2 separate regions of the Homo sapiens genome follow, and region 2 is linked to region 1. Evidence: promoter capture Hi-C in human tissues and cell types (Jung and others, 2019). All regions are on one chromosome and are shown on one strand. The core of a region is centred on a gene start or on the middle of the fragment in contact, and the rest is flanking DNA. Distances in the headings are between cores, read along the strand shown. Region 1 holds the start of ZNF138 (zinc finger protein 138). Region 2 overlaps ZNF92 (zinc finger protein 92).

The links. Contacts are between HindIII fragments. The study calls those that stand out against the background at their distance.
Region 2: a fragment that was not itself captured here is called in contact with the fragment with the promoter of ZNF138 in region 1 in 1 of the 25 tissues and cell types used here (dorsolateral prefrontal cortex).

Annotation. Positions count from the first base shown.
Region 1 is chr7:64,792,384-64,796,071 of GRCh38, reverse strand. ZNF138 (zinc finger protein 138) reads right to left here and starts at 1,644. Exons shown (of 4, transcript NM_001271639.2): 1 at 1,501-1,644. The coding sequence starts at 1,503. RefSeq lists enhancers at 1,044-1,604, 1,389-1,628, 1,869-1,918. The HindIII fragment of the contact is 15,546 bases long and covers 1-3,688 here.
Region 2 is chr7:65,379,483-65,383,059 of GRCh38, reverse strand. All of the region lies in intron 1 of ZNF92 (zinc finger protein 92), which reads right to left. Among named protein-coding and RNA genes, the nearest start is that of ZNF92, 7.4 kb to the right of the region's middle. The HindIII fragment of the contact is 3,903 bases long and covers 1-3,234 here.

The DNA.
Region 1 (3,688 bases), core at 395-2,894:
GACACTGGGTTGGTTTGAAGACAATCTTAACTTCTCAAAGGGTTTGCTTTTCAAAGGAAGAGTACACCAGGAGATTCCTCTCAGCCCCAGGGCATTCACCTGCTCCCTTGAGAGGCTACACTCCAACCTCAGGTTGTCCTCTGTCTCCCATTCCCAGATAACCAGAGTTCATTCCAGGCCAGGAGCTGAAATTTACCAGAGATTCTAGCATACACAGCCACAGTGGATATTTTGATTTATCCTCAGAAAGTACTGAAACCCAGGACCAAGGAAAAAACTGAAGAGTGACTAAGGACACATTACCTTATAAAGTTTCCAAAGGGAAACCTTGACCCAAAAATATTCTGATAAGATCTCTGTACCTAGGGAAGATTTAAAAAAAAAAAAAAAGGCACAGAGATTTTTTACAATACAGCATCAGGGGATGAGTCTTTGGTTTCTTCTCATGGGAAATATTTACAAACAGATAACAAATCTTTTTTAAAATGCCATCCATGCTTTGTCAAAAAATGATTAATTAAAATACAGTATTTCAAATGTACACTAAAGGACAAATAGTTGATAATGTGAATTAGGAAGGGGAAGTTGGCATTTGGGAATGTCAGAAGGAACTGGAAATTTAGTATTTTACTGCAAGCCAGAGTTAGGCTGAAGGAATGGGAAATGGGGAGGGGGAGGAGTCTTGAGACCCTGCTTGGGACACATGTGAAAAATGAAGGGGAAGATCTGTCCCCTGTGGAGTGTGAAAATAATTAAGTGGCAGGCAATTAGACTGAGGTCGCTCCAGTCCCAGGGTTTCTGGTTTTAAAAAAATCTAACTCAAATGCATTTTTTTGTAAATTACTACCTTGTGAAAAATAAAATTCATGTTTAACCAACTGTAAACTGCCAATTAACCTCTGATTACATGACCAGGAAATTTCCTCCTTCATTGTACAAATTAAGAAACTACATAACTCTACTAACCAATTACTGAATTTGGTTTTATCATACACCTTATACAAGTGTTTCCTTCAAACCCCTCCCACGGACCACTACTGCAAACCACAGCTGGGTGCTCCACAATTCTTGAATCACTGTTTGATTAAATTAATTTTTTTGCGGTGACTTTCATAAATTTTAATAGGGGAAAAGAGGGACAGGGAAGCCCGCGGAGGAAACCTCTTCCCATTCATGAACCCAGCACCCCGAGTCAGGATTCTCCCCTGACGACCCTCCCGTCGTCTCTGCACAATCGCTGCGGGTGCAGAGCTGCTCAGAGAGGGCTCCAGGCCAGGGCACAGTCACTGCGCAGGGAGGAGACAGGACGCCTGGTTCCGGCTGTCAGCCCAGCTGCCATGCTATGGCTTAAGGGGACTGAGGGCCGAGCTGTGCCAAGAACTCGGGGCCGCGGATTTTGCAGCCGACTGCGGGAAGACCCGAGTACTGCCACAGCCACTTCCGACCGGTTCCAACCAGCTCCCTCCCCCTCTCTCGGGATGTCGGACCCAGCACTCTCACCATTTCTAGGCTTCCGGGGGATCCTGGCGTCTTAGCTGTGAATCTCCCAATAACCAGATCACAGCGCCACAGAGGCTGGGCCTCTAGGAGTAAGAGGACGCAGAAAAGTGAAGGCCAGACCTGCAGCACCCGCTGCAGCGAGACAAAGACCCCGCCGCCTCCCGGAAGACGTCATGTCCGCTCCAGCTGGGTGCCTGATTGGACCGTTCCCAGCCCGGCGTCCCTGATTGGATAACGTTTAACAACCCGCCCCCTCAGGCCCTGAGTGACAGATGTGCTCAGGTGCTGGGCTGAAGGAAGACAGAGTTAAACCTAAGCAGCAGCCTTTTCCAGAAGGGCTTCCTCCCTGAGCTGAGTCAGGCCCACCCCAGAGGGCATTTGCATTTAACCTTGTGTATAAGGTCGTATGCATTTATAAATAACATATAGCTATTCACATCTGAATATAACAATTATTTTTAAATTCCAGATTTTATAACCGTACTGGCTTCTGGTCCTTTGAGCAGGCAGCCTGAGATTTTTTTCTTTTTTTTTTTTGAGACAGAGTCTCACTCTCACCCAGGCTCAAGCACAGTGGCACGATTTCGGCTCACCCCAAACTCCGCATCTCGGGCTCAAGTGATTCTCCTGCCTTAGCCTCCTGAGTAATTGGGATTACAGGCACCCGCCTCCACGCCCGGCTACTTTTTGTATATTTAATAGAGACAGAATTTTGCCATGTTGGTCAGGCTGATCTCGAACTCCTGACCTCAGGTGATCCACCTGCCTCGGCCTCCCAAAGTGCTGGGATTACAGAGCACATGTGAATTCCAAATTTTCTAGTAGTCAAACTTTAAGAATAAACAGGTGGAATTCACTCTAATTGAGATGGTTAGTCATTTAGGCTGGGCTCAGTGAGACCATTCTTGTGACCTCAGCTGAGTTCCTTCAGACATGTATCATCAGCTGCTTGTTGACTAGGCAGCTGTGCTTCTGGGGGTGAGCTTCTGCTTCTGAGGCTGTCAACAGAGGCAACTTGCTTCTCCTCCCCATACTATTTTATCTTCCATCTGGCTAACATGGGCTTTTTTCGCGGAGATAGTAGCCTTCTGAAAGAAAAACAGAAGCATGCAAAACCATTTGAGCCTACGCCTCAAACTAGCACACTGCACTGTTCACAGGTTTTTACTGCCCTGAGCAAATAAGGCCAGCCAGATCTAGGGTTTGGAAAACAGAACTGGATCTCAATGGAAACAGCTGTAAATGCACCTGGCAATGGGCATGGATAGCGGAGGGATGAAAAATTGCTAACATTTTTGCAATCAGTATCATTCTGCCTTTTTTTGCATATGTGGTTTATATAACTCTTCCACATCAAAAAAAAAAAAATTTGTGCAAAGACCCACAGCTATTAAGTGGCTGGGCTGGGACTCAGAATTAACTCCATTTGACCCTTGAAATCCTGGAGAGTGACACTTCTAAAATAGAAGCCAGATTTCTTTTAGATTTGTGCCCATATAGCACTGTTTATTATTATTGCTAGAAATAATCTTAAGAAATTGAAGAAGCACACGGTAGCTCACATCTATAATCCTAGCACTTTGGCAAGCTGAGATGGGAGAATCACTTGCGCTCAGGAGTTCAAGTGCAGCCTGAATAACATAGTTAAGATCCTATGTGCATGAAAATTTTTTTTTTTTTAATTAGCCAGTCATGGCCGGGCGCGGTGGCTCATGCCTGTAATCCCAGCACTTTGGGAGGCCGAGGAGGGCAGATCACGAGGTCAGGAGATCGAGACCATCCTGGCTAACACGGTGAAACCCCGTCTCTACTAAAAATACAGTCCCAGCTGCTCGGGAGGCTGAGGCAGGAGAATGGCATGAACCCACGAGATGGGGCTTGCAGTGAGCCAAGATCCCACCACTGCACTCCAGCCTGGGTGACAGAGCGAGACTCCGTCTCAAAAAAAATAAAAAATAAAAATAAATAAAAATAAAAATTAGCCAGCATGAGGCAATCCTGTAGTCCCAGCTACTCAGGTGGCAGAGGCAAGAGGATTACTTGAGCCTGGAAGGTCGAGGCTGCAGTGAGCCATGATTGGTTACGACACTGCACTTCAGCCTGGGTGGTGAGAGTGTGATCCTTTCTCCAAAAAAAAAAAAAGAAAAGAAAAGAAACAGAAAAGAAAAAAGTTGCAGGAGCATTTCAA
Region 2 (3,577 bases), core at 34-2,533, 590 kb before region 1:
AAACAACCTTGATTACTGATTGACATACATTTCTAAGCTGTATAGGGTGTGGGTTATAGTGTTCAGCGTAGCATTATTAGTTTAATTTATAGCTACTCGTGGCAATAGCAAGCAGTTTCAAGAGATAAATACATAGCTCAAAGGAGAGAGAAAGACACAATTGTGGTCTCGTTTTAATGTCTCTTTGAGCCTTATAACTAAAAGGATTTGCATTTCTCAGATAAAAGGTTTACTGCAAGACCCAGATTCAGAATGTGGAGCCGCTAGTTTAGGTCCTGGATGGGTAGAATAGCAGTAAGTGTTACCTGCACATTTGTGGGCATTTTAAAAAGAGAAGGAAGGGGAAAGTGGAGATTCTCATGCCTACATGTCTACTCAATGCATGCATGTTACTCTAACGGGCCCCACAGTCTCTGAATCAGTTTCAGGTCTAAAGATACAAGAGTCATTGAAAGAGGTAAAATGGTTAATTGCTGTTCTGTGAAGTATTTAGAAATTTGGTCTAGCCTCTCTAGATGTGATTATACAGGACTAGATACCAAATAGGCAGAGGCACGATTCTGCCTGCATATTCAGGGGACAGCATGCATTTTGCAGCACAATCATGAGTTGACTGGAAGCCTGAGACAAAAAGGCCCATCTAGATTAAAGCTTGGTTGGCACCTTATATGTTTATATCATGTGTGGTAAGTTTAAACAGTGTTTGGAAAATATAATTAAAAGGAAAGTTTTCTCCAGCCCCAGAGTAACTCCACAATGATAAAACAGAAAGAAAACTGTTTTATTACACAATTACACCAGAATGTGACACGCATCACAATCTGCTTAAGAGACTGCAAAGACAGAAAGACGGTCACAATAATTAGTCCATAAGTAGAAGAATTTACAGTACCATGTTATACATAGTTCATCCTAAATTCACCTGGCAACTGGGGAGGCCATCCGTGTAAGCTAATTGGCTATATTCAATGACAAAATAAACTTTTCACATCTTCGTGACAGGAGGTAGTTTTGCAATTTGAAGCCAGGTGCCTGCTGAAGGTAGGCTCTCACTCTCCTATAGAAATGGTTGAATATAGTGCTCTCTTTTTGGCTATTTGCATTTTAAAGCAATAGCTCTCTACTCTGAGCACTACCACAGCAACATGATACCAGTACAAAAACAGGCTCAGAGACCAATGCAACAGAATAGAGAGCCCAGAAATAATGTGGCACACCTACAATCATCGTATTTTTGACAAAGCTGACAAGAGAAATGTAGGAGAGATTCCCTGTTTAATAAATGGTGTTGTAATAAATAGCTAGCACTATGTAAAAGATTAAAACTGGACTCCCTGCTTACACTATATCCAAAAATAAACACAAGATAAATTAAGGACTTAAATGTAAAACTTAAAATTATAAAATGCCCTGGAAGATAACCTAGGAAATACAATTCCAGACATAGAAACTGCCAACGATATTATGATGAAGATACCAAAAGCAATCGCCACAAAAGCAAAAATCGATAAATGGGACCAAATTAAACTAAAGAGCATCTTCACAGAAAACAAAAACAAAACCCACAAGAAACTATCAACAGAGTAAACAGACAACCTAGAGAATAAAGAAAAATATTTGCAAACTATGCTTCTGACAAAGGTCTAATATCCAGAATCCATAAGGAACTTAAGCAAGTTTACAAGAAAAAAAAAACCTTATTAAAAAGTAGGCAAAGGACATAAACACACGCTTTTCAAGAGAAAGCAGGTGGGTGTGGTGCCTCACACCTGTAATCCTAGCACTCTGGGAGGCCAAGGTGGGTGGATCACAAGGTCAAGAGTTCGAGACCAGCCTGGCCAATATGGTGAAACCCCCGTCTCTACTAAAAAAAATACAAAAATTAGTCAGGCATGGTGGGGCGTGCCTGTAATCCCAGCTACTTGGGAGGCTGAGGGAGAATTGCTTGAACCCAGGAGATGGAGGTTGCAGTGAGCCGAGATCGTGCCACTGCACTCCAGCCTGGATAACAGAGCGAGACTCCATCTCCAAAAAGAAAAGAAAAAAAAGAGAAAGCATACATGTGGCTAACAAGCATATTAAAAAAGTGCTCATCACTAATCATTAGAGAGATGCAAACAAACAAACAAAAAAAACACCACAATGAGATACCATCTCACACCAGTAAGAATGGCAATTACCAAAAAAGTCAAAAAAATAATAGATGTGCTGGCAAAGTTGCAGGGTAAAGAGAATGCTTATACTCTGCTGGTGGGAGTGTAAATTAGTTCAACCATTGTGAAAAGCAGTGTGACAATTCCTCACAAAACTAAAAACAGAATTACCATTTGACCCACCTCCTAATTAGGTATATACCCAAAGAATACAAATTATTCTATCATAAAGACCCATGCACATGCATCTTCATTGCAGCACTAGTGACAGTACCAAAGACATGGAATTAACCTAAATACCCTCAATGGTAGGCTAGATAAAGAAAATACATTGTGGTTGAGCATAGTGGTTCACGCCTGTAATCCCAGCACTTTGGCAGGGTGAGGCAGGTGGATTGCGTGAGCTCAGGAGTTGGCGACCAGCCTGGGAAACATGGCAAAACTCTGTCTGTACAAAAAATACAAAAAGAAAAATTAGCCAGGCGTGGTCGTGCACGCTGTAGTCCCAGCTACTTGGGGGGCTTAGGTAGGAGGATTGCTTGAGCCCAGGAGATTGAGATTGAGGCTGCAGTGAGCCAAGATCACACCACTGCACTCCAGCCTGGGCGACAGAGTGAGACCCTGTCTTCAGAAATAAATAAAATAAAGATTTAATAAAAACAAAATATGGTACATAAAAATAGTGGAATATTGTGTGGCCATAAAACAAGAACAAGATCATTTTCTTTGCAGCAACATGGATGGAGCTGGAGACCATTATCCTTAGAAAACTAATGCAGAAACAGAAAACCAAATGCATGCTATCATTTATAAGAGCTAAATAACAACAACACATGGAGACAATAAGAGGAAAAACAGACACTGAGGCCTAGTTGAGGGTAGAGGGTGGCAGGACAAAGAGGATCAGGAAAAAAATACCCATTTGGTTCTATGCTTAGTACCTCAGAGACAAAATAGTCTACACCAAACACCCACAACACAATTTTACCTATAGAACAATCCTGCATGTGTACTCCCGAACCAAAAACAAAACAGAAAAGATCCATGGGTGGGGGAGAGTGCACTGTAGATGGAAAGACTGGTTTGTGCTACAGATAGTGGCGTGGGGCTGTCCTCTCATTTATTTGTGTCCATGCAGGCAGATGAGATTATGAACAGGTGGTGCAGAACCCTAGGTTGGTGGAGAAAGCAGGCTGATGCTGTAGATTCAGTGTGGAGGTGGGGATATGCCAGGAGACTTGTAGACAATTTTGTGAGCAAGAAACAGGTTCAAAAATGCTGCGGTGAAATTCCTGAGGGTGGTGCCTAGTCCTGGGAGGAGTGTGTGCACATCAATGTCTAGTGAGTATGTTTGTAAGTGGGTGGGAATCATGTGGTGGCAGCTGTGGGGAAAGGATGTCTGTTATCAGAGCTTCTTTCCTCTA